7 separate regions of the Homo sapiens genome follow, and all the other regions are linked to region 4. Evidence: promoter capture Hi-C in 16 types of primary human blood cells and fetal thymus (Javierre and others, 2016). All regions are on one chromosome and are shown on one strand. Each heading gives the region's core, a stretch centred on a gene start or on the middle of the fragment in contact. The rest is flanking DNA. Distances are from core to core; before and after follow the strand shown.

What was found. The method cuts DNA at HindIII sites, captures the fragments that hold promoters and counts their contacts. A CHiCAGO score of 5 or more calls a contact.
Region 1: a fragment that was not itself captured here is called in contact with the fragment with the promoter of TMEM141 in region 4 in 2 of 17 cell types (endothelial precursors and erythroblasts); the score reaches 5.8 in endothelial precursors.
Region 2: a contact is called between a fragment that was not itself captured here and the fragment with the promoter of TMEM141 in region 4, in 1 of 17 cell types (erythroblasts). The highest score is 6.3, in erythroblasts.
Region 3: the fragment with the promoter of TMEM203 here is called in contact with the fragment with the promoter of TMEM141 in region 4 in 1 of 17 cell types (total CD8 T cells); the score reaches 6.6 in total CD8 T cells.
Region 5: a contact is called between a fragment that was not itself captured here and the fragment with the promoter of TMEM141 in region 4, in 4 of 17 cell types (naive CD4 T cells, naive CD8 T cells, total CD8 T cells and 1 more). The highest score is 7.8, in naive CD4 T cells.
Region 6: the fragment with the promoter of SLC34A3 here is called in contact with the fragment with the promoter of TMEM141 in region 4 in 11 of 17 cell types (total CD4 T cells, naive B cells, erythroblasts and 8 more); the score reaches 9.1 in total CD4 T cells.
Region 7: a contact is called between a fragment that was not itself captured here and the fragment with the promoter of TMEM141 in region 4, in 1 of 17 cell types (erythroblasts). The highest score is 5.5, in erythroblasts.

Annotation. Positions count from the first base shown.
Region 1 is chr9:137,163,196-137,166,787 of GRCh38, reverse strand. GRIN1 (glutamate ionotropic receptor NMDA type subunit 1) reads right to left here. Exons shown (of 20, transcript NM_007327.4): 16 at 3,458-3,592; 17 at 3,120-3,229; 18 at 2,884-3,029; 19 at 1,492-1,602. Among named protein-coding and RNA genes, the nearest start is that of MIR3621, 4.3 kb to the left of the region's middle. RefSeq lists an enhancer at 3,502-3,592. The HindIII fragment of the contact is 3,872 bases long and covers 315-3,592 here.
Region 2 is chr9:137,281,671-137,285,190 of GRCh38, reverse strand. TOR4A (torsin family 4 member A) reads right to left here. Exons shown (of 2, transcript NM_017723.3): 2 at 2,550-3,520. Among named protein-coding and RNA genes, the nearest start is that of TOR4A, 5.7 kb to the right of the region's middle. The HindIII fragment of the contact is 1,900 bases long and covers 539-2,438 here.
Region 3 is chr9:137,203,742-137,207,164 of GRCh38, reverse strand. It overlaps TMEM203 (transmembrane protein 203), which reads left to right and starts at 1,517. Exons shown (of 1, transcript NM_053045.2): 1 at 1,517-3,083. The coding sequence starts at 1,751. The coding sequence ends at 2,161. NDOR1 (NADPH dependent diflavin oxidoreductase 1) reads right to left here and starts at 1,465. Exons shown (of 14, transcript NM_014434.4): 1 at 1,253-1,465; 2 at 856-933. The coding sequence starts at 1,387. RefSeq lists a silencer at 1,502-1,761. The HindIII fragment of the contact is 6,239 bases long and covers 1-2,973 here.
Region 4 is chr9:136,789,961-136,793,346 of GRCh38, reverse strand. It overlaps TMEM141 (transmembrane protein 141), which reads right to left and starts at 2,003. Exons shown (of 5, transcript NM_032928.4): 1 at 1,923-2,003; 2 at 1,570-1,636; 3 at 1,317-1,400; 4 at 989-1,096; 5 at 30-528. The coding sequence starts at 1,976. The coding sequence ends at 515. RefSeq lists a silencer at 1,577-2,616. The HindIII fragment of the contact is 4,968 bases long and covers 1-3,386 here.
Region 5 is chr9:137,181,748-137,185,106 of GRCh38, reverse strand. ANAPC2 (anaphase promoting complex subunit 2) reads left to right here. Exons shown (of 13, transcript NM_013366.4): 4 at 20-194; 5 at 1,316-1,435; 6 at 1,865-1,982; 7 at 3,245-3,359. Among named protein-coding and RNA genes, the nearest start is that of ANAPC2, 5.1 kb to the left of the region's middle. The HindIII fragment of the contact is 8,215 bases long and covers 1-3,359 here.
Region 6 is chr9:137,228,713-137,232,171 of GRCh38, reverse strand. It overlaps SLC34A3 (solute carrier family 34 member 3), which reads right to left and starts at 1,271. Exons shown (of 13, transcript NM_001177316.2): 1 at 1,234-1,271; 2 at 385-508; 3 at 11-100. The coding sequence starts at 469. RNF224 (ring finger protein 224) reads right to left here. Exons shown (of 3, transcript NM_001190228.2): 3 at 2,532-3,459. The coding sequence ends at 3,086. RefSeq lists an enhancer at 1,974-2,474. The HindIII fragment of the contact is 19,638 bases long and covers 1-2,151 here.
Region 7 is chr9:137,265,164-137,268,999 of GRCh38, reverse strand. NELFB (negative elongation factor complex member B) reads right to left here. Exons shown (of 13, transcript NM_015456.5): 7 at 3,021-3,123; 8 at 2,574-2,669; 9 at 1,914-2,056; 10 at 1,654-1,760. Among named protein-coding and RNA genes, the nearest start is that of TOR4A, 11 kb to the left of the region's middle. The HindIII fragment of the contact is 538 bases long and covers 1,925-2,462 here.

The sequences.
Region 1 (3,592 bases), core at 1,001-3,500, 370 kb before region 4:
TTGCAGCATCAGCTCTGCCCGCTTTCCGCAGCAGAGGTGGCTCCAGGAATGGTGCTTCCACCTGCTCCTTGAGCCTCCAGTGGCCCCCAGGCCTACAGGCTCTCACTGTCCACCCATCCTGCATGCCAAGTCCCTTCCCCAGGAAGCTGAGCAGCCAGGCCTCATGGGTCCCTCTTGGGGCACCCTGGTGGCTTCATCTCGGGATTTGGCTTGCTTGATGCCAAGTCCTGTCTGTGCCCTGGAGGTCTGCCCCGCTTCCAGTGCACTGAGGGGCAGGTGGCTGCAAATCGCACTTCCTCCCCCGGGCGTAAGCTTCTCTCTGGTGATGCTGCTTATGGGCTGGGGGCTTCCTGTGGGCCAGACTGGTCCCTGGACTGCAGGGTGGCCACGGGGCTGAGGTCTCCGCTGCCTCTCTGGGCAGCCCCTCCCCACCATGGTGCCTGGGCCTGGGGTGCCTCTAGCAAGGCTGGGTTCGCTCTGGGGGCCTCTGGTCCGAGTGTGCATATCCGCTACAGGGACAAGCTGCCCCGAGCAGGAGGTGGGGGATTCTGGGCTCCAAAGGGCAGAAGGCCTGGCTCTTTGGGGTGGGCCTTGTGGGGTTGCTGGGGTCAGGAGCTGAGGTGGTCGTTTCCCTTCCAGAGGCCTCCCTGTCTGGGAACCTCAGTGTCGTCCTGGGCTCTGCAGGCCAGGGCTTGTGGGGCCGCCCCTACCCATTCTCAGACCCTCTGGGAGCTGCCGCCACACCTCCTGCAGGGCCCCCGCTCAGCCTGGGGTGGGAGCCACCCCTTTTGGTCCCACCCCACTCCCTGCCTGACAGTCCCCTGTGGCCGGGGCCAGTTCCAACTCCAGGCCCCAGCCGTCCACCCAGACGGACCCAGGCCCGGCCCCCAGCCCCCGGCCCACACAGAGACCACATGAAGATGCAACACGCATGGCTCTGGTGAGACAGGTGAGACAGGTGTCTGGGGGGCGGGGCCAGTGGCCAGACAGACGGACGGGATGGGACATCACAGCCACCCCCTCCAGGGCCGTCGCAGGGGCGAAGTGAGGGCGGCGGGCCCCTCTGGGAGAGGCGAGAGAAACGGGGACATAACAGAGAAGTGGTGTGGCCTCCCGGCAGCTGAGGAGTCCAGGATGGGGCCACGCTGGGCTCCCAGGGCCCCAGACCTGGCCCCGAGAGGTGGTGTGGCTGACTGACTGACCAACGAGATGACAGGCTTCAAGATGGCGTGTGGGTCATGGCAGGGGAGGTGGGCGGGCAGACTAACGGAGACACACGGGGAAAGCCGAGGACCCAGGAGGGCCGGGGAGAAAGGTCCAGAGAGTGAGAGAGAGCAGCATGGGCGGGCTGGGCAGAGCGGCCGCCACAGGGAGACAGGGGCAGAGTGGGCCACAGGAGCCCAGGGTCCGGGGCGGGGTGATGGGGCGGGAGACACACGCAGGGCAGGGCAGGTGGAGTCGGACGCGGGACTGGGGTGCTCTCCCCCTTACCGTGTCTTTGGAGGACCTACGCCTCTTGAAGCTGGAAGCCAGGGTGGAGGTGATAGCCCTAAATGTGGCTTTCTTTTTAGGGTCAGGCTCTGCTCTACCACTCTTTCTATCCTAAAATGAATATGTATAAGTGATTAGATGGCTAGGGTGGTGGCCACACCTGCCCTCGCCTGCTCCTGCATGGGCCGCTGCCCAGCCTGGCCGGCCACTTGGGCCCTCGCTCCTGCCTGCCTCCCTGTGCTGGACAGACGGGCCGACAGCGGACGTTCGAGGGTGGCCTCTTCTCCTGCCCGGGGTCTCGGGCCTGACCTTGCTCGTGCTGGGGCTGGGCTTGGGGGCTCTCGGCTGGCTCTTCCTGGGAGGTCCGCCTGGCTCCCTGGCTCCTGGGTGGCCCTGGCTTACAGGCGTCCCGAGGAGGAGGAGTCCTCTGAGGACTGGAGGAGTTGCCCCTCAGGCCACACCAGCTGTCTGCGTGGAGGCCACTGACCCCCAAGGGGCACACACCAAGATTCAGGAAGGGGCCGAGGGCTGGAGGCAGGTGTCGAGGTGGAATTGGAGTGACAGAGGCAGCTCCCGGGACTCTGGCCTCAGGTCTGATGGCCAGGTGGCCTGTGCCCGCCAGTGCTGGCAGCGGCCAGGTCCCCAGGGGACCTGTGGGGGCCAAGAGCAAGAGCGGGCGGATGAGAGGTGTGGAGCCTCCAGCAACCCCCATCCCCCAGCAGCCCTGGCCGCACTGTCGGCTTCATCTCAGGACACAGGCTCCAGGACGGCACCCAGAGAAAGAGAAGAGACGGAGTGAACCGGAACTCGACCGCGGGCCACGAGCCCTTAGGCCTGTACAGGCCCACTGCCCACCCTGTCCCAGGTGGGCCGTGGCTGCCCTTGCTGGTGGCAAATTCTCATGGATACAACCTGGGCACCAGGCAGGACCGGACCTGGCCCAATTCGGATTAGAGTCACGGAGCACAAGGACATAGCAGGAAAGGGGGGGGTCTCCGAAGGGTGTCAAGGGGCTTGGGTCGGCGGAGGGCAAAATGCATCTTGGACTCACGTGCCATACACAGGCGGGCCCCTGTCTTACCCTGCCTGATTGCCTTCCTATGGAATGGGTACCGGCGGGCGACTCTGGAGACAGAGGGGCCAGGCGGAGGCTTGGAGCAGGGTGCGTGGCCTCCCTCGGCCCCGGCTTTGCAGTGGGCAGCCACCTGCAGGCAGCCCCCCACCGGTGCTGCCCCCGTGCCCTGGGAGCACTCACCACTGCCCCTGGCCATGGCTCCTAGCTCCAGTCCTGCCCACCAGAGCCAGAGCCAGTGCCACGGCCTTCGGGGATGGAGGAGGGCCGTGGCCAGGCCGGGCCCTGGGCACCAGGCCTCGGAGGGTGGCCTGCCCTACCTGCAGGTTCTTCCGCCACACGTTAACGGCGGCAAAGGCCAGCTGCATCTGCTTCCGGCGAGCATCCTTGTGCCGCTTGTAGGCAATCTCGATGAAAATCAGGAAGATCCCGGCCACGATGCCCCCAGCTACCAGCATGAAGACCCCTGTGTGCCGGGACCCAGAGCCTCAGTTGCTGGCCAGGGAGGCCGCAGCCCACGGAGAACCCACCCGAGAATGGATGAAGGAGAACGCACCGGCCATGTTCTCAAAAGTAAGGGTCGCAGGGGCGTTGCTGCGCGAGTCACATTCCTGATACCGAACCCACGTCTTGTCCAGGTCTTCCATGAAGCCATTCTCGTGGGACCTGGCGGTGGGAACAAGTGAGCCTGCAGTGAGGCGGGGCCCAGGACGGGAAGGAGCAAGCTGGGGGCGGGGCCGGGGCGGGGCCTGCGGGGTAGGGTGCGGCGTGGAGTGGGCAGCGCCCGGCCTGGGTGGGAAATCAGTGGTGGCCTCGGAGTGGTCTGGCACTGGGGAGGGCGTCCACCTCTGGCGGAGAGGGGCGGAGGAGGGACGCGGGCGCACGGACACTCACTTGAGGATGGACAGGGAGACGTTCTGCTTCCAGGGGCTGTCTTTGCGCATGCCTATGCCGAAGCCCGAGCGGAAAAACAGCTCTCCAGTCGTCACCAGGTCGCACTTCTGCGAGGCCTCGAACTCCAGCACCGCC
Region 2 (3,520 bases), core at 239-2,738, 490 kb before region 4:
TAGCCAGTCATGGTGGCAGGCGCCTGTAATCCCAGCTACTAAGGAGGCTGAGGCAGAATGGCGAGAACCCGGGAGGCGGAGCTTGCAGTGAGCCAAGATTGCGCCACTGCACTTCCAGCCTGGATGACAGAGCAAGACTCCATCTCAAAAAAAAAAAATGCAAAAAACTAGCCAGGCGTGGTGATGGGCGCCTGTAGTCCCAGCTACTTGGGAGGCTGAGGCAGGAGAATGGCATGAACCCAGGAGGCGGAGCTTGCAGTGAGCAGAGATCGCGCCACTGCACTCCAGCCTGGGCAACAGAGCGAGACTCTGTCTCAAAAAAAAAAAAAAAAACAAAAATTACCAGGACATGGTGGCACACGCCTCTGGTCCCAGCTACTCAGGAGGCCAAGGCAGGAGAATCGCTTGAACCTGGGAGTTTAAGGCTGCAGTGAGCCAAGATTGCACCACTAGCTGAGATTGCACCACTGCCCTCCAGCCTAGGTGACAGAGTGAGACCCTGTCTCAAACAAACAAACCAAAAAAAAAAAAAAAAGCTTTATTTCAAAAAGTTTGCCTAGGGCCAGGCATGGTGGCTCACGCCTGTAATCCCAGCACTTTGGGAGGTCTAGGCTGGAGGATCACTGTAAGTGGGGAGTTTGAGACCAGCCTGTCCAATATGGTATAACCCTGTCTCTACTAAAAATACAAAAATTAGCTGAGCATGTTGGTGCGTGCCTGCAATCCCAGCTACTCGGGAGACTGAGGCAGGAGAATTGCTTGAACCCAGGAGGTGGAAGTTGCAATGAGCCGAGATCATCGCACCATTGCACTCCAGCCTAGACAACAAGAGTGAAACTCCGTCTCAAAACAAAACAAAACAAAAAATTAGCTGGGCATGGTGGCACACACCTGTAGTCCCAGGTACTAGGGAGGCTACAGCAGGAGAATCCCTTGAACCCAGGAGGCAGAGGTTGCAGTGAGCCAAGATCGAGCCACTGCACTCCAGCCTGGGCGATAGAGCAAGACTGTCTCAAAAAAAAAAAATCAATAAAATTAGACAATTTAGATGAAATGGACAAATTCCTAGAAGTTCCAAGAAAGACACAAATTACCAAAACTGACTCAGGGACTTTGCAGATGTAGGTAAGTGTGGACCTTGGATGGGAAGATAATCCGTTATTACCCAGGTGGACACATTTACTTATTTATTTTATCTTTTTTGAGACATAGTCTCACTCTGTCGTCCAGGCTGGAGTGCAGTCGCAGGGTCTTGGCTCACTGCAAGCTCCACCTCCTGGATTCAAGCGATTCTCCTACCTCAGCCCCCCAAGTAGCTGGGATGACAGGAACTCGACACCACATCCGACTGATTTTTGTATTTTTAGTAGAGACAGGGTTCCACCATGTTGGCCAGGCTGGTCTTGAACTCCTGACCTCAGGTGATCTGCCCGCCTTGGCCTCCCAAAGTGCTGGGATTATAGGCGTGAGCCACTGCGCCTGGCCCAGGTGGACACATCTAGTCACATGGGTCTTTAAAAGCAGAAAACTCTTCCTGGCTGTGGTCGGAAGGATGCAGTGTTGCTGACCTTGAAAAATGCAGAGAATGGCCAGGCGCGGCGGCTCACGCCTGGAATCCCAGCACTTTGGAAGGCCGAGGTGGGAGAATCGCTTGAGCCCAGGAGGTCGAGGCTGTAGTGAGCCACAATCACGCCATTGCATTCCAGCCTGAATGACAGAGAGAACCTGTCTCTATTAAAAGAAAAGAGAAGCCAGGCACGTTGGCTCACAACTGTAATGCCAGCATTTTGGGAGGCTGAGATGGGTAGATCACCTGAGGTCAGGAGTTCGAGACCAGCCTGGCCAACATAGTGAAACTGAGTCCCTACTAAAAATACAAAAATTAGCTGGGTGTGGTGGTGGGCGTCTGTAATTCCAGCTACTCAGGAGGCTGAGGCAGGAGAATTACTTGAACCCAGGAGGTGGAGGCTGCAGTGAGTGGAGATCACACCACTGCACTCCAGCCTGGGTGACAGAGCGAGACCTTGTCTCAAAAAAAAAAAAAAAAGTCATTATGATGTGCACACACAGATCACGAGGGTTACTACGTAATGACACATGGCAGATGTCAAAGAATAACTCAGAGACAACTGCACAGAAACAGTTTCTGCACATATGAGGGAGAGCAGCTATGACATTTGGGATCATCTGGTTAGCTGGCAACTTCCCGCATGTCCAGCCTGGGTCATCTGCCCTCAGCACCTGTCCAGGGCAATTAAAGAAAATACTTTAGTTATTTATGGATTTCCTGGAAAGCCCGGATGTTTGAGCTGCAGACTGCATGTGAGCCCCAATCCTTCCATCAGCCTCCAGGTCCACACCACTTCCCCATTCAGAAGTTTCTCAAAACAAAACAAAAAACAAAACTCTCGATCAGCATGTCCTATTAAATAGAAGCTTAGAGAGAAATGGATAAATCTACCATAAATCTACAATTAGGGAAAGATTTCAGCATCCTCCTCAATTATTAACAGACCAGACAGACAAGAAACAAACCAAACAGTAGGTCGTCAGATTTGAACCACACAATTTATTAACAAGCATGATTTGTGGCCTCGTTTATTACCAGCCCCCACCCCAGCACTTGGTGCACATTCTCCTTAAGCGCAGAATTTGGCCTCAAGGTAATATTTTAGGAATAAATAAAAAGAGGCCGGGCACGGTGGCTCACACCTGTAATCCCAGCACTTTGGGAGGCCGAGGTGGGCGGATCACGAGGTCAGGAGTTCGTGACTAGCCTGGCCAACATAGTGAATCACCGTCTCTACCAACAATACAAAAAAATTACCCGGGCGTGATGGCGGGCGCCTGTAATCCCAGCTACTCGGGAGGCTGAGGCAGGAGAATCGCTTGAACCCAGGAGGCAGAGGTTGCAGTGAACCGAGATCGTGTCATTGCACTCCAGCCTGGGCAACAAGAGCAAAACTCTGTGTCAAAAAAAAAAGAAAGAAAGAAAGAAAGAGATAAAATTTCCCCTTAGGTCTGGACCTTTTGATACAAGCCGATGCTCAGCGGGTGTTGTTGACTGACAGGTGGATGAATGGCCCACGCTTGCCGGCAGGTGACACCTCCAGGTGGGTGCTCTGTGGGAAGGGGAGCTGACAGTCCTGGGGGTCCTGCCTGGGGAGCAGTGGGCACCCCAACATTCACCCATGCAGGGACTGGCAAACACACCCCCACTCTGCAGCTCTCTCTGTTACCACCTTGAAGCCAACACGAAGGCCAGACCAGAGCTGGGTGTCCCTCTGTGTGGGCTCCTGGGACAGATACTCGCCTGGGAGAGGTGGGGCTCCTTCTCCCAGCTCCTTCCCCTAGCCCTGGGGTTGGGGTGGACAGAGCTGGGCTGAACTCAGCCCTGGTTCCCAGCGCTGGCTAGCCGGTCCTGCACAGCCCCAGGAGGCAAAGGTTTCCTGGTAGCCCCCACCCCCACCCCGTGGAGCCGGACCCCTCCCCAAGACTCCAGGAGCAGCGGGAGTCCTCA
Region 3 (3,423 bases), core at 268-2,767, 410 kb before region 4:
CCAGTGCGGTTTTGCTAGCTTAGGAACATGACTGTGTCACCCCTACAGTTCCGACAACCCTTCATTTCAAGCCCATCTGCCTTGCTGTGGTTACTCAGGCTCTTTGGACTGGGCCTGGCTTCCTGCCTCTCTTCTCCTCCCCTCTTGCCCCAGTGTACTCCTCAGCTTGGCCACCCTGAGCTGCTTTCCACTTTTCACACAAACCAAATCATCTTTTTCCTCTGCGCTGACTGCTCCTTCTTCCTCGGTGCCTGACTAGCCCTCACGCATCCTTCCGTGACTCAGCTTACACTCTTTTCTTCCAGAAACCTCTGCCTGGGCCCCAAGGTTGGGTGAGATAAGGCTCGATGCCCCTTATCAGTGCTCCTGTGACATATGCTACTTTCCCCAGCAGCAGGTGTTTGCTGGCACTGTCATTGCCCGTTAGCTGCTTCTGCTACAGTGTGAACTCTGCCAGGATGGAAATATGGCTGCTGGGTTCACAGCTGGATCCCCAGCACCAGACTGTGCCAAGAATAGAATATGTGCTTAAAAGATGGTCAGAGAATTCAGCAACGTTCCCTGAGGGTCATACAGTCTAGAAATACACACAAGACCCAGACTAGATGCACATATAGATAGCCCTGGAAAAATAAGAAAGGTTAAAACGGATAATAAGGCTATTTGGTGGCTACGACGAGTTTATTAGAGAGGGCAACCGGAGCCCCCAGCCCCACTCACGGACGTTCTCTCAAATCCACCTCTGAAGGTGCATGAGATAAAGGAGAGCTATTTACTGCACCTAGACGCCAGGCAATGAAAACGGGGTGAGGGTCGAGGGCAGGGATCTGAGGAGCCACATCAGGCCAGCCTTACCTTCATGTTGTCAGGGGGGTCTCCTTGGCCTGTAGTTGCACAAACAAATATCACCAGGGGCTCGTTAATCAGATTCACCTCAACAAAAAGACACACACACGTAAGACCTCCGGCTGTAAGGACCGGGCGTCCTTCCCAAAACTTGACCCCCTTCTCCTTTACTCAGGCTGACAGGGCAGAGGGATTTATGTGAGCAGCCAGACCGTCTTCTCTTTCAGGTTCCAACCTCCTCCAGGTGCTAAACTGAACTCCCCTTCCCAAACCTCCTTCCCTAAATCCGCCATAAGGGAAAGACCCGCTCTCAGAGAAAATGCGACGCCTTTTGGGTCGATGACCCCGCGAGGCGGGCACGCCAGGCCTGCTCGTCCCCCACGCCGAGGCCCTAGCGAGCCCTCACCACCGGGTAGGAGTCCAGGGCCTGCACCCGGCAGCCAAGCCGCCGGCGCCGGGCCTCGCGACCCAGTCTCTCCGACACATCCTGAGCCGTGCCTGTCTGGCTGCCGAAGAGCACCAGAAGCTGCGGGCTCGGCATCGGGGTGCGCCCGGTGGTCTGGTCTGAGACTAAAAACTAGAAGGCAGTTCCCGCCGGCCGGGTTGCAGGGACCGCTCCGCCTTCCGCCTTCCGCCGTCGACCGGAAGTGACGCACTAGGGACGCGCCCTGTGGGGGCATGGCGTCCGATCGAGGCGGGCGTTCACGGGCGGCCAGGGTTGAGTCCCGGGTCGGGGCCGGGGGATTGCCGGCGCATCAGGGCCGAGGGCTGGGGCTGGCGGGGCCGCTCGCTGCCTCTCGCTCGCAGCAGCGGCGGCAGGCGCGGGCGAGGGCCACGGGGAGAGGAGACGCAGCCCCGCGGGTGGCACGCTCGGCCGGGCCCCGGCCCGCGCTCAACGGGCGCGATGCTCTTCTCGCTCCGGGAGCTGGTGCAGTGGCTAGGCTTCGCCACCTTCGAGATCTTCGTGCACCTGCTGGCCCTGTTGGTGTTCTCTGTGCTGCTGGCACTGCGTGTGGATGGCCTGGTCCCGGGCCTCTCCTGGTGGAACGTGTTCGTGCCTTTCTTCGCCGCTGACGGGCTCAGCACCTACTTCACCACCATCGTGTCCGTGCGCCTCTTCCAGGATGGAGAGAAGCGGCTGGCGGTGCTCCGCCTTTTCTGGGTACTTACGGTCCTGAGTCTCAAGTTCGTCTTCGAGATGCTGTTGTGCCAGAAGCTGGCGGAGCAGACTCGGGAGCTCTGGTTCGGCCTCATTACGTCCCCGCTCTTCATTCTCCTGCAGCTGCTCATGATCCGCGCCTGTCGGGTCAACTAGCCTCACCGAGGTGCCGGAGAGGGAGCGCTGGACAACTAGAATGTTGACCTCGAGCCGAGGCCCTACTTGCAGCGCACCGGAGGAGAGGCTCTCTAGTCTGAAGGCACCGCCGGCTTGCGCCGAGCTGAGTGCCGGGTTTCCCTATTCCAATCCTGTTTGAAATGGTTTCTTCAGCAGGGCTTAAAAGAGCAGCCTTCATCCTGAAAATGTATTTCCTTTTGTTTAATGCTTTGAGTAGATAATCCTGAATTGAGGTCATGAGGAGGCCCCCCAGGCCAGACAGTCCTGAACCCCTCTGACACTTGGAAACTGAATATAAGTAAAATGTCCAGGTGGACTCTGAGTATTTCCTGTGGATCCTGGGAAAGTACTGTTGCACAAAGGCTGCAAAGCTGGACTCAGGAATGTCCTCCAACCAGCAGCGCTGACCTAAGAGCTCCCTGTGCCGTCTATCCAGACCAGACTTCGGTAGATGCCTTTGTTAGATCTATCACATGTAAACGAGCTTGTATCTCCTTCCCTGTGCCACGAGAGAGATTGGCTTTTTATTCCAGTCTAGGCAGAGACAGAAGAATGTTGAATAAGAGCACGATTAGAGTCCTGTCTGGTTATCTGTTGCCCAAGAAAAGAACTCTGCTGTCCAGGCACTGCTTGGCTTACTATCCCAGCAAAGACTGCAGTTTTGTGGACTTTTGACCACCTTGGGCTGGCACTCTTAGCACACCTGAGACAGATTTAAGCCTCCCTAAGAGACTGAAGAGAGGAACAGGTGTCAGATACTCATAGGCACTGAGATCTACAAATGGGAAGCTTGTGAGTGGCCCATCTTTGTTGGCCTACGAACTTTGGTTTGATGCCAGTCAGGTGCCACATGAGAACCTTTGCTGAGATGCAAATAAAGTAAGAGAATGTTTTCCTGAAATGAATAGTGGTTGCCTGTAACCCTCAAGGGTTAAATAGGATGAATATTGAGATACTCTCTGCTACGTGGTGTAGCTGGTTACAGAGCTGCGGTTTTAAATGGATTGAAACCTGTGGCTAGAGCTTAGTGGATGGTGGTGGTGGGAATCACTTGTTCTGGAGAATCCCTCCTTCCTGCTCTAGGAGGTGGGTAACTCAGGCACCCCCCCCCCCACCCTGTATGAAGACAACAATCTGGGCTCATGTTAAAGACCCATTGAATAGTTTGTGACCCCAGAGCCCATGACTTCTTGCCAGAGTGTGGTCTTTGTGGGCCTTGTTGGCACTCTGTAGAGCAGGGA
Region 4 (3,386 bases), core at 754-3,253:
ATCAACTGTAGGGTAATAAAGGTTTCATGTGACCTGTCATCATCTTACCCTTCTGATTTGTTTTTCACCTGGTCAGGTGGAAACTTGGGTGGAGAGAAGGATAAGCCATTTATTAACCCCACGCCCCTAGCACCAGCTGTCACCTTGGACTTGTTGGAGATGCAGGGGCTAGAAAGGAAATGACAGAGTGTACAGGCCCCTTCGACCCCGTGTCCCATAGGTGGTGGCCCCCAGACACACCCTCTCTGCTGGCAGTGCAGAACATGCATCCCAATACCCTAGAGGAGAAACACCACCCCAGGGAGAGCCCTTTCTGCTCCAACCTCCTGGGCAGGTCCCAGGTTGGGGCAGCAGCCATCTGCAGGTGTTTGTCAGGCCTGGCCACACATGCGGACAGAGGATACGACTGGGGTACCCTAGGGTGTGGGGAGGGTCGGCCTGGGGTCAGGGGGCATGAAGGCTGTGTTCCAGACTCCTCCTGCCCCCAATCCTCTGTGCCCCTGCTGGAGCTCTCCTAGCTTCTCTGATCTGTAAAAGGCAAAGAGAGACAAGCTCGAACCACATCCATCGTGGCTGGGCATCCCTGTGCCCATTTTATCATGGCAGAAACTGGGTTCCGTAACAAGGACAACGGGCAGTGGAGGCCAGGCCTGGGTCCAATGCGGGGCTTCTCAGTCCAGCCTCACTCCTCTCGGGTGCCCACGTGGCTGCTGTGGCCTTGCCACACCCTTCACTCTGCACCCTTCCTCTCAATCTCAGGGGCACCCCAGCCCCTCTTGGTTCTTTCTCCTCAAAGGGAGCTCTCCAAGATCTGTCTACTGCGCCCACCCCCAGCTCCAACCCATCTGGCAGTCACATGCTGAGGAGGCCGGGCCAGAGGGAGGGACCTTGTCTAGCCTATCGCATGGTGCACCCAGGCTTGGCTGCCCAAAACTCTGGGTGCTGGAGAGGTGGCATTCACTTCTCGCTAACCCCCAGGCTCTCTCACCTGTGCTCCTGTCTTTGGGGAGCTGCCCGGTCTCCAGGAAGAGCCAGAGGTTGTTGCATTTCTCCGACTCCACTCTCGTCACCCCGTAGCTGACCACAGAGCCTGCAACTGTGGAGCAGGAAATGGAAGAGGGCTGGGGCCTCTGTGCTTCCCAGGCTAAGAGAACCGGGCACAGGCTACTTCCTGACAGACGTGGTGGGTGGGCTCAGGTGGGGCTCCCGCCGAGACCTGGGGCTCCATGTCAGAGTCAGGGACGCAGAACCACAGCCCCAACCCTAGCAGAAACCCACCCCTCAAAGAGCCCAGGCAGGGGCCCTGGAGTACCCACCCACGGCCACTAGGAGGCTCCACTGCAAAGGGTATGGAAACTTCCTCTGAATGAACATCTGCAAGCCAAAGGCCATGCCGGTGCCTGCAAAGAGCCGAGGTCCCCATCAACCTGTACCCGGGGATAGCCAGGGCCCACCTTGCCAGGCCCCCAGCACCTGCGGGCAGGTGACTTGGCGCCCCCTGCTGGGGAGTCAGGGCAGGGCGGGAGGGTGCGTTCTCTCCCAGCCGCAGGACACCTGGACGCAGCCTACCTGTGACGAAGGTGAAAACGCCCTTCATGAAGGCGTGTGACTGGCATGCGGCATACTCCCCGAGTCCCTGGGGTGGCAGAGGCGGGTGAAGGCTCGATCCCCTGCCCTCTTCCTTCACCGCCTCTCCTGTCCCTCCTCTGGGCACACCCTGGCTGTGGAGGAGTGAGACCCTGGGCGCTTGGACACGTCCCACCTCCCCTATGCCCACCCGGACGCCCTGAGCCCCTTAGCAAGAGAGTGCCCCCAGCCTCCGCCACTCTTCCCTGACGAGGGCACCCCCACGCCCCGGCCCCCCGCCTCGCTCAGGTCAGCTTCTGGGGTTTGAGGCCCGCGTCCCAGACCGGCCTTCTCACCGGGTGCTTGGCAGCCACGGCGTCGTCCACCCGGGACAGACCCAAGTTCACCATGGTTGGCAGGGCTCGGGGAGCGGGCCTGCGCAGGCGCAGGCGGAAGGGCGGGACGGGAACCTGGGGGTGTGGCCCAGAGGACAGGCCTGCGCAGTTACGGACGGAGGGGCAGGGCCCGGATCTGGGGGCGAGGCCTAGGGACCGGCCCGCGCTGGAACAGGCGGAGGGGGCGGGGCCTAGGAGACGGCGCCTGAGGGCGGGTCCGCGCGGCAGCAGGCGGAGGGGGCGGGACCTGGGAGACGTGATCTGGGGGCGGGGCCTGAGAGACGGGACTTTGGAGACGCGACCTGGGGGCGGGGCCTGAGAGACAGGACCGGGGAGCGGGCCTGCGCAGGCGGAGGTGTCGGGTTCTAAGAGGCGGGTCCTGCCGGGTGCAGGCGGAGGGGCCAGGGCCTTGGATTGGGGGCGGAGCATGGATCGAGCCTGCTAGAGCGCAGGGGAGAGGGGTGGGGCCTGGGGCCTGGCCACGCCTCTAGGAGCTTGGGCCCTGTGACCTCCGGCGACGACTGGGCGGGGCGAAGGCGGGCACCGGGCGGGGCGTGGCTGAGAGCGTGCGCTCCTCCCCCCGGCCGGGCCTCATTCCCACACTTGCAGAGGCCTGATGATTGTCAGTGTTATTTTGCTTGAGGACTACAATCAGGGATTGAATTTCTCATAAGCCACCACGGAGTGGGGATGTATAAAATCACTGTTTAGCAAAGTGGTTCTGTAACCAGCAGCTTAGTAGCTGAGCCTCAAACTCCTTTTGTTTTGCATGACAAAGAGTCTTTACTTTCAAATAATTATCGATACACCAAGTAATAACATGTACAAGTTCTTGAATTCTATCATCTAGTAATTTTGATTAAGAGAAACTAAAATCAGCCCAAACAATTCCACTAGTATTCACTGGTGTAACCATTAGCAAGAACGGAGGACTTCAAGTCAGGCTGCTGCTTCACACAGGTTACAAATAACTATTTACTACTTTTTCATCGATAAAGTCCCTGATCTTCAAGAAAGTGCTAGGGAAAAAAATTAACCCCTTCCTTTCTTCAAAGAATTATTATGTGGTTTTTTTTTTTAAACTAGATCAAAGAAAGAAAAAGTCAACACTGATATACGTGTTGCTTGAGCCAAAAGGCATGGGAAAAAAGACAACATATAACCATTAAATTCCTAAGAAATATGAGGTAAAAAGATGAAATCTTGGCCAGGTGCGGTGGCTTACGCCTGTAATCCCAGCACCTTGGGAGGCCGAGGCAGGTGGATCACAAGGTCAGGAGTTAAATACTAGCCTGGCCAAGATGGTGAAACCCCGTCTCTACTAAAAATACAAAAATTAGCCGGGCGTGGTGGCAGGTGCCTATAATCCCAGGTACTGGGGAGGCTGAGGCAGGAGAATCACTTGAACCTGGGAGGTGGAGGTTG
Region 5 (3,359 bases), core at 860-3,359, 390 kb before region 4:
ACTAGCGTTCTCCTGACAGTGGATCGAGCGGGTGGTCGGCTGGCTCGGCAAGGTGTTCCTGCAGGACGGCCCCGCCAGGCCCGCATCTCCCGAGGCCGGCAACACCCTGCGCCGCTGGCGCTGCCACGTGCAAAGGTTCTTCTACCGCATCTACGCCAGCCTGCGCATCGAGGAGCTCTTCAGCATCGTCCGAGGTGGTCCTGCCCCGGCCCTGGGGTCCGCTCTCCCGTCTGGGGAGTCTTCCCAGGGCCTTCCCCGTGTCTCCTCTGTGTCTGCATCTGGGCTCCCTGTGCCTTCACCGTGTCTGCTCTGTGTCTGCGTCTGGGGCTCCCAGGGCCTTTGCCGTGTCTGCTCTGTGTCTGCGTCTGGGCTCCCTGTGTCTGCGTCTTGGGCTCCCTGTGCCTTCGCCGTGTCTGCTCTGTGTCTGCGTCTGGGCTCCCTGTGTCTGCGTCTGGGCTCCCTGTGCCTTCACCGTGTCTGCTCTGTCTGCGTCTGGGGCTCCCAGGGCCTTCGCCGTGTCTGCTCTGTCTGCGTCTGGGCTCCCTGTGTCTGCGTCTGGGGCTCCCAGGGCCTTCGCTGTGTCTGCTCTGTGTCTGCATCTGGGCTCCCTGTGCCTTCGCCGTGTCTGCTCTGTGTCTGCGTCTTGGGCTCCCTGTGCCTTCACCGTGTCTGCTCTGTGTCTGCGTCTGGGCTCCCTGTGTCTGCGTCTGGGCTCCCCGTGCCTTCACCGTGTCTGCTCTTTGTCTGCATCTGGGGCTCCCAGGGCCTTCGTCGTGTCTGCTCTGTGTCTGTGTCTGGGCTCCTTGTGTCTGCGTCTGGGCTCCCTGTGCCTTCGCCGTGTCTGCTCTGTGTCTGCATCTGGGGCTCCCAGGGCCTTCGCCATGTCGGCTCTGTGTCTGCATCTGGGCTCCCTGTGTCCACGTCTGGGGCTCCCTGTGCCTTCGCTGTCGCTCTTGCAGGGGGGTGCACCGGGCAGTGCTGGGACTGTCCCCACTGCGGCGTCCCCCGTGCCTGGATCAGGGCAGGTGTGGCAGATGCTGGACAGTGCTTCTGGGTGTCCACTGCTGTGCTGCCTTGGCCTTGGCTCCTGCTGGGGACTGGCCCCTGGGTGTTGCTCTGTCCACCCTGTGGCATTGTGGTCAAATGCATCAGCACGCCAGAGTGTCGGGGGGATGTCTGGTGCCTAGCAGGTGGTCTCATCATCGTCCTGGGGCTGGCAAGCACGTGTCCTTTCCCACACCGCACACACTCTGCACCAGCCTGCACGTGCGCACGCATCCATGTCTGTCCCTGAGGGATGTTCTTCTTCTTGTAGACTTCCCAGACTCCCGGCCAGCCATCGAGGACCTCAAGTACTGCCTGGAGAGGACGGACCAGAGGCAGCAGCTGCTCGTGTCCCTCAAGGCTGCCCTGGAGACTCGGCTCCTGCATCCAGGTGCTGTGTGCTGCCCGGCCACCCAGCACTCTGGGCTTAGACACTCACCAGGGGACCCATGTCCAGGGAGCCTGGGGCCTAGTCTGCCAGCCCTGGACTTGTAGGTCTAAGGAAGAAATGGGTTGAGAAGCAATTGGTGAGGTCCTTAGGGGATCTGAGGTGCCCGTCAGCTTGCTTGTTTCTTCTTTGGAGGGAGTCAGGACTGACCGGTAGGTCTGAGGTGATGAGACTTAGTTCTCTCAGAACAGACCTCCCTGCAGGGCGGGACCTGTGAACAGGTAGAGGTGGGGATGGGGGGACAAGGGAACGAGGCTGCAGTGGGGACCTGTAGACCACCTACCGGCATGGCCAGCTGTCTACTCGGGTGTTGCCCCTGGGAGGCTGTGGTCCCGGGCACTGCATGACTGCTGGCTTCTGCCCTGGCTGTAGGCGTCAACACGTGTGACATCATCACCCTCTATATCTCTGCCATCAAGGCGCTGCGCGTGCTGGACCCTTCCATGGTCATCCTGGAGGTGGCCTGTGAGCCTATCCGCCGCTACCTGAGGTGAGGGCTGCAGCTGGCCCAGGAGCCACTGGGACCCTGGGCATCCTGCTGAGCTCCTCGTGGTCCTGGGGGGCAGCCGGAGGGTGTGTTCGGCCGTCAGGACACAAGGTCTCCCCCGGCTGGGCTGAGTGCACGGGATCAGGCCCGAGGCTCTTTCCTTTCCTCTTGCCCGTGCCGGGCACCTGTCCTTGTCACACGGTGTCACCGTGCCCTCTGTGTGCAGCTGCCAGAGGCCCACCACAGCCCTTCCTCAGCCTCCCCATCTCCAGCACAGAGAGAAGCTCTTCCACTTGGCCTCGCCTTGGTGCTGACCAGTCCCCAAGGCCGACCAGGCAAGGGGAGTGGGCTCTGCTGTCCTGGCCTTTCCCACGGCAAGGAACAGACACTCCTGGGGCTGTTCGGTGGAGAATGTGTTGGGATGAGGACCTTGACATGGCTGCCTGGGAATTCCTCAGGGGTCGCAGAGGCCCTGGCCCGGGGCTGGCAGGCACAGTGGCCCCCAGGAGCCGAGCAGCAGGAGCCGGTGGAGTCTGGCCCCTACCTGGACTCCTTTGGTGCTTTGTGGCTGTAACTGGCCTGGCTTCTGAGCCAGTTCTTTGTTTTTTCTTTTTTTTTTGAGATGGAGTCTCACTCTTTCGCCCAGGCTGGAGTGCAGTGGCACGATCTCTGCTCACTGCAAGCTCCGCCTCCCGGGTTCACGCCATTCTCCTGCCTCAGCCTCCCGAGTAACTGAGACTACAGGCCGCCACCAAGCCTGGCTAACTTTTTGTATTTTTAATAGAGATGGGGTTTCACCATGTTAGCCAGGATAGTCTTGATCTCCTGACCTCGTGATCCGCCTGCCTCGGCCTCCTGAAGTGCTGGGATTACAGGCGTGAGCCACCGTGCCCGGCCCTTTTTTCTTTTTCTTTTTCTTTTTTTTGAGGCAGGCTCTCGCTCTGTTGGAGTGCAGTGGCAGAATCCTGTCTCCCTGCAGCCTCGGACACCTGGGCTTAGGTCTTCTGGCTTAGTGTCCCTATGTGCTGGGATTGCAGGTGCGCAGGCCGGCCTTGCGCTCGCAGCTCCTGCTGCTCCCAAGTAACGTTGGGTTTATTTGTTTTTAAGGAGTCTGACGGGCCTGTGTTTAGTACATAGCCCATCACCACTGAGTGTAGAGGCAGGGTCGGTGGTGCTGGCCTAGATGGGGCCGGGACTGGAATGAGTGGTGGGAGGTGCGCGCGGGGTGTCCACACTGTGGGCCACAGCAGCACTCACATCGGCAGGACGCGGGAGGACACAGTGCGGCAGATTGTGGCTGGGCTGACGGGGGACTCGGACGGGACAGGGGACCTGGCTGTTGAGCTGTCCAAGACCGACCCGGCGAGCCTGGAGACAGGC
Region 6 (3,459 bases), core at 22-2,521, 440 kb before region 4:
CCAGACCCACCTTTCCAGGGCTGGCTTGTGTCCTTCAGCTGAGGGAGGGTCCAGGGGTCTGTGTCCCCTTCCTCCAAGACTGGAGCAGAACTGGAGGTCCCTGTGGAGGTAGAATTGAGTACGGCTGTTTCCAGGACCACCTCCCTCCAACTGGGGGCACAAGGGCACAGGCCGGAGGACGGGCTGAGGCGTAAGAGGCCTGGAGTGAGGGACAGAAACGGAACGGGGAAGATGGGGCTCCAGCTGGGCTGGACCTGAGTGGAGGCGTCATGAGCCCTGTGGGTTCCCCGGGAGGCCCGCAGGAAACCTGGCCTGTCTCTGCCCAGTGCCTGGGGGGTGGGTGGTCAGACTGGTGAAGGCCTGGGGCACAGGGGCCACTGGTACCTTCATTCCTCAGAGTCTTTTCCACTAGGTCAACCGCGTCCAGAGTGGGGTGGGGGACCTGGCTGCCGGGAAGGGAACTCGGCATGGATTTCGGGCAGGGACAGACCCAGGCCCAGGTCTAGATCTGCTGGGGGGGACGCGCGTGTCAGAGACATTTCCTCCTGCCCCGGCCCTGTCCTCACAAGCTGGATTCACACCCCTGGGTCCCCTGAATTGAGCCCTTGGCCGCCACCCTCCCTCTCTACGCCCTGCAGGCCTCAGTGACCATCCCCCTTTCTCCATCCACAGGGGGATGGCTACAATGACCTCAGGCAGTTGTCAGGCGAGCCCAGTCCAGTTTCAGGGGTAGACTCGAAGGGGCTCCAGCTCCCCGGCTCCCTTGCTGGTCCTGACTGGAAGGCTAGTGCCGAGGGTGCAGGCCATGAGCTGGGGAACCTGGGGACCTCCCCTATCTGGTGTCATCGGGGACACTGTGGATGGTCCCGACTTAGACTTTGGCATTTGATACTAAACAGTGACGTCTCGGCTTGATAAGGGCCCCACGCCCTGGTGATGGGGAGCAGGTGGGGTCCTCACACCACTTCAAGGCTCCTGGCCCCGAAGCTGCTGCCTTAGCCTCCTGGGCCTGGTCACCCCACCCCTGGGGCCCCCCACCTGGACCCCTCCACCTAGTGCCCTGGGCTCAGGTCCAGGCGTCCTGTGCCTCACCCTCCCTCCTGCTGCCCAAGCCTGGCGTCTCTTGCCCTTGGGTCCTGGAGACTCAGGATGGGGCCCAAGCCCTTGGCCTGGAGGCCACCCAGCCTCGGCCTCACTGTCCCTGGGCCTCAGCCTGGTCCTAGGAGCTCCTACCTGTGTGGGTGGTGAGGGGGCACCTGCAGGGAGGAGACACGGGGCGGGAGCAGTTGCAGGTCAAAGATCCCCTGATCGCGCACATGACCTGCTGGGTACTGAGCCCATTAATGTTTACCCAGGAGCCCAGGCCCTCACGGGGGTACCCTCCTGGCCCCAAGGCCCCTAGGCCTTGTCTCCATCCTGTCACTCTGTGGCTAGGACCTCCAAGCCCCAGCCCAACCCTCCTGGAGTGGGGCTCCTCCCAGGGGTGGGCTCTGAATCAGGCCGAGGGCACTGCGGGGCGGGGCACCGGCCCTCGGTACTGGGCATCCTCAGCAGGCATCCGTGTGACCCAAGAGACACACTCCACCCAGCCAGGCAGGATGCTAGAGTATGGCTGGGGCTGCCCGGGAGTCGAGAGACGCCAGTCCCCCACTTCCATGCACCTCAGGGCTCCCCAGACCTTCTCAGGGTCATCCCTGCCCTCGGCAGAGCAGGGGAGGGAAGCCCTTTGCACCAGGTGGTGGGGGAGGACGGGCTTTTTCACGTAGCCGGGGAGGGCACCCAGCCCGAGGTCAGAGGGTTCAGATCCGGGTTCAGGGCAGGGTTGGGCCCAGCAGGCTGCTAGCGGGCTCGGCCCTGGTATAGCCAGCGACGGCGGCCGGCAGCCTCCATCTGCAGAGGGGAGGACAGAGCTCCCCAGGCCACCTTCCCCACCCGCTGCCTGGCCCAGCGCACAGTTCTCCCCAGCGGAGTCCCAGCTGGCCCCACCGCCTGTGGGGTGTCCCCTAGGAGGACTGGGCCTCTTCCTGCCCTGGGGTGCGGGGCAGCTCCCCCAGAGGCTCACCCTGCCCAGGGGCTGCTGGTGCCCTGCTTTGCTTGCTGCCCAGCCCCCGCTGTGTGCATGGGGACTTTGCCCTGGAGAAGGTAGAAGCTTCTGAGTGTCCGCTCAGCAAATTCTCTTCCGTCTCCCTCCTGCGCCCTTGCTCTGGGGGTGGGGGGCAGCAGTCCTTCCCTGGGGCTCCTGAGTGACAGCTCGTTCCAGTGGGGGTGGGGGTGTTGCAGCACTGACTTGGTGGTAACTGCTGTCCACAGTCTGGCCCCAGCCCCAGCCCCGGCCCCTCAAAAGGGTCTGTGTGGTGGCTGCTCGGAGCCAGGAAAGGTTCAGCGAAGGATGAGACCAACTGGGCTGTGAGACCTCAAGCAGGCCCCAGCCCTCTGTTGGCCTCAGGCAGGCCCCGCCGAGGCATCCCCTTCAATGCCTGTATGGCTTCGTGCCTACACGAGACCCTCCCAGAACCGCACCCGACACACAGTGGGAACTCCATGAGCTTTGTTGAGTGGGTGAATTCACAGGGCTGCCATGCAGGGCAGGGAGGAAGGAGGTAGTCTTGCCACCCTCCCGGTACACCCCGGGGACGTCTGTGGGAGAGGGGAGACCTGCTCTGGGCAGCCCGCCAGGCATAGCCAGACCGGCCCTGCCCCTCCAGCCTGCAGCCCAGGCCCCCGGGACGCCTTCGCATCCTCTTGGGAGCCATCCTTTGCGCTGCGTCTAGGCCCAAGCCAGGCTTGCCGCCCACTCAGACAGCAGTGTCCTCACCAGGCACATCCGGTCGGGCTAGTCTGGGGTCTGGTAATTGTGGCCAGGACAGGTGGGAGGTCACCAGCCTCCTGCGGAGCCTCCCAGCCCCCAACCTTAGGCTGTGGCCTGGGATGTTCACGGCTGGGATGACACCACCCTGCTGGGCCACACGAAGCTGCGTATAGGATGCTACTGCCAGGTTGTTCTGAGTGGGCTGAACCCATGATGGTGTGTGGTCAGGGGTTCCAAGGCAGGCATTTCCCCTGCAGGGGTGGGAATGGCCAGAGTTCAGACCTCGGGGCTGCCTAGGGGTGGGCAGCAGAGGCTGCCACAGCCCCAGCAGCAGTATCTGGGCTGGGGGAAGTGGGGCTGGGGTCCCAGGGCAGGGCACAGCCCAGCTGGCTGCCGAGTGATGGCGCTGCCTTTGAGGGAGGTGAGGGGCAGGGGTTCTAGTCTTGCCGGCTCCCGCTCAGCCTTGACCGCCAGGAAAGCAGCCAGGTCCAGGTCTAGCATGGCCACCCCTCCGCGAGGCGTGGGCGTGCTCTGACGGCACTGCGGACAGGGGATCCAGCGCTGCTCGGGCGCCGGTGTGTCCAGCCGCCGCACACACGCCTGGCAGAAGGTGTGTCCACAGTAGAGGCGGCGGGGCAGGTGCCCGGAGA
Region 7 (3,836 bases), core at 944-3,443, 480 kb before region 4:
TTCTCGCTGTTAGCACAGGAGTGGCTCCTGATAAAAGGGTAAGTGTGGCCCCTTCTCTGTCTCCGTCTGTCTGTGTCTCATCTCTAGCTCTGTCTCTCATCTGTCTCTGTCCTGTGTCTCTCATCTGTCTGTCTCCATGTCTCTCCTGTCTCTGTCTCTCTTACCTGTCTCTCATCTCTCTGTGTCTCATCTCTGTCTCTGTGTCTCTCATCTTTGTCTCTCATCTTGGTCTGTGTGTCTCTGTCTCTCATCTCTGTCTGTGTCTGTCTGTCTCCCCTGCCCGTGCTCTCTTGCCCTCTGCCTTCCACCATGGGATGACACAGCAAAAAGCCCCAGCCAGATGCAGGCCCCTTGACCTCGGACTTCCCATCCCAGCCCGCAGAACTGGGAGAAGTCCCTGCTCTTTGTTTTTTTGAGACGGAGTCTCGCTCTGTCGCCTGGGCTGGAGTGCAATAGTGCAATCTCCACTCACTGCAACCTCCACCTCCCAGGTTCAAGGGATTCTCCTGCTTCAGCCTCCCAAGTAGCTGAGATTACAGGCACCCACCACCATGCCCAACCAATTTTTGTATTTTTTTAGTAGAGACAGGGTTTCACCATGTTGGCCAGACTGGTCTCGAACTCCTGACCTCGTGATCCGCCCGCCTCAGCCTCCCAAAGCACTGGGATTACAGGCCTGAGCCACCGTGCCCGGCCGTCCCTGCCCTTTCTACACTACTCAGTCTCAAGTCTCTGTTAGAGCAGCATAACGTGGACTAAGACAGCAAACCCCAGACAAGGCCTGAGTCAGCAAGGAAGAGCCCAGGGTCTGTGTCACAGTGGGTACCGCAAGGCTAAAGAGGCCCCATCTCCCATGGGACCCACAGCAGGCTAAAGAGGCCCCATCTCCCAGGGGACCTGCAGCTCTACTCTTGAAGGTGCCCATTTGGACCCTTCCTCTTCTTCCTGGCTTGCAACAACCCCTCCCCCGTCAAGGCCCCCAGGAGGAAGTGGGCCTGTCACCACCTGGGGTGGGGCACTGGGGCAGGGGATCTCTCTCCCTCCCCTTTGCTCCATTCTCTGAGCACCTGAGGGGTCCCAAGCCCCTCGCCAGTTAGGATGAAATAAAGACAGCTCTTACATCACCTTTTTGTGGGAAAGCACAAAGTTGAACTCCCTCTCCCTTTCCTAGTAAAATAAACTACAAACAAAAGTAAAAGTGAAAACGAGGCTGGGAGTGGTGGCTCACACCTGTCATCCCAACACTTTGGGAGGCCGAGGCGGGCGGATCATGAAGTCAGGAGTTCGAGACCAGCCCAACCAACATGGAGAAACCCCGTCTCTACTAAAAATACAAAAATTAGCCTGGCACGGTGGCACGCGCCTGTAATCCCAGCTACTCAGGAGGGTGAGGCACGAGAAATCACTTGAACCTAGGAGGCAGAGGCTGCAGTGAGCTGAGGTTGCACCACTGCACTCCAGCCTGGGCGACAGAGCAAGACTCCATCTCAAAAAAAAAAAAAAAAAAAAGGTGAAAACAAAGCTAGCAAAGTTGGAGGTGGGCTGGGGAGACAAGGCAGCTCCTGGGGGCCCTGGGGCCCGCACCCTGGGCAGGACTGCATACGGCAGCTGCCGCAGGGAAGACACAGCCAGGCACCGCCCGTCAGGACTTACCCAGCCCGGGCAGCAGGCGGAGGAGCGCGTTCTTGTTCCTCTGCTTGGTGATGTGCAGGACGTAGTACAGCCCCACCTCGCAGGCCATGCGCTGCTCCTGCAGAAACCTGCGCCCGGGGCGCCATCAGCCCCACCTCAGCCCCACCTCAGCCCCACCTCAGCCCCACACCGACCCCTGCCCAGCCCTGAGGCAGCCCCCTGGGCAACAGTGCCATCCCTGCGCCACGGCCACCCCTGCACCATGGCCCTACAGCCCGTACTTAGTGAAGCTTTCGGGAAGTGTGTTTGGATATGAGACTGGGGCTTTCTCCTCAGCCGGAAGTTTCTGATCCACATTGAAAGTGTAGTCATCCACCAGGAAGGACATGAGCATCGGGAGGAACCTGGTGATGAGCTCTACCTCCTACGAGGAGGGGAGGCCATGAGCGGGCGCGGGCCCGGGCCCTGCCCCACCCCACCCTGACGTGACACACACCCTGCCCCTGGCCCTCCCACTCCCCCAGATACCTCACCGACCCTCCCTCCTCTCCAGGTCCCCAGGTCCCTCTTCCCACCTCCCGAGTCCCCCACCCAGGCCATCTCCTCAAACCCCCTTCTAGGTCTGGACCCACATGGAGTAGTCACCACCTGTGGCCAGCCATGGTCCATGGAGACACCCCCAGAACAAGCCACGGTCCACGGAGACACCCCAGAACCAGCCACGGGCCATGGAGATACCCCAGAACCAGCCAGGGTCCACGGAGACACCCCAGAACCTCCCTGGTGGGCATTTTCCCAAAAGGAAGGTGGGCAGCTCCAGGAAGGAAGCTTTGGGACCAAAGGGGCCTCCACAATCACCTTGCTAGCGCCTCCCCCTCCACCCCACTTCCAGCCCACAACCCCTCGTAGGAAACTGGCAGCCCCCACAGGAGGCTCGTTACCATCTTGGGCTCCTTGAAGACCTGGCTGTCGATCATGTCCCAGGCTCCCTGGCCCAGCGCCAGCAGCCGGAGCAGCAGCAGGAGGTCGGGGCTGTCCTGTAGGGAGGACGGGCTCAGCGCCTCTCCCAGGCAGCTGTGTCCTGGCCATGGAGCTCCTCTGACCCTACTCGTTACTCAGCAGGATCTCTGGTGCCCATGGCCAGGACCACACGACTGCGATCACCAGCCCCACACACGGGGTGAAACGCAGTCTCACAGCGGGGAAGCACACGCCTCTACCTGGGCCACTGCAGTCCACATCCCCGACCACCAGAGCAGCCAGCAGGGCGGCCACAGGGCCCCAACAGCTGCCTCCACCTGGCCGCTGCTGTCCACACCCTGACCACCCAGAGCAGCCAGCGGAGTGGCCGCATGGCCCCGACAGCTGCTGGCCAAGCCCACACTCACCCTGGGCAGTGTCTCCTGGCCGACCAGCTCCTGCAGGTGCCTGACTGTGCTCAGTGCCAGCGTGTTGATGGCGAAGGGGTCACACAGGATCATGGACAGGTCCCTGGAAGGAGGCCGCCCTGGCATTAATGCGACGCCTGTTGCCCCTCCCTTCAGCGGCACAGTCCTCAGGAGGGGTGGCCTAGGCTGAATTCAGGACTGGCAGCGGGTGCCCATCACATGCTGGGTTTCTTACAAAAAGCTTAAGGATGGCCGAGCGCGGCGGCTCAGCCTGTCATCCCAGCACTTTGGCAGGCCGGGCGCGGCGGCTCAGCCTGTCATCCCAGCACTTTGGCAGGCCGAGGCGGATGGATCACCAGGTCAGGAGACTGAGACCAGCCTGGCTAACAAAGTGAAACCCTGTCTCTACCAAAAATACAAAAAATTAGCCGGGCGTGGTGGTGGTCGCCTGTGGTCCCAGCTACTCGGGAGGCTGAGGCAGGAGAATCACTTGAACCCGGGAGGCAGAGCTTGCAGTGAGCCAGGATCGCGTCACTGCACTCCAGCCTGGGCAAGAGAGCGAGACTCTGTCTCAAAAAAAAAAAAAAAAAAAGCTTAAGGTTTGCAATTTGTCCTTAACCTATTCAAAGATTTTTCAAATTAAAAAGTTAAAAAAACAAACAAAAAAAAGGCTGGGTGTGGTGGCTCACGCCTGTCATCCCAGCACTTTGGGATGCTGAGGCCGGTGGATTGTTTGTTTGAGACTAGCCCGGGCGAGGTGGTGAAATCCCATCTCTACTAAAGATAACAAAAATCGGCCAGGCGCACTGGTGTGTG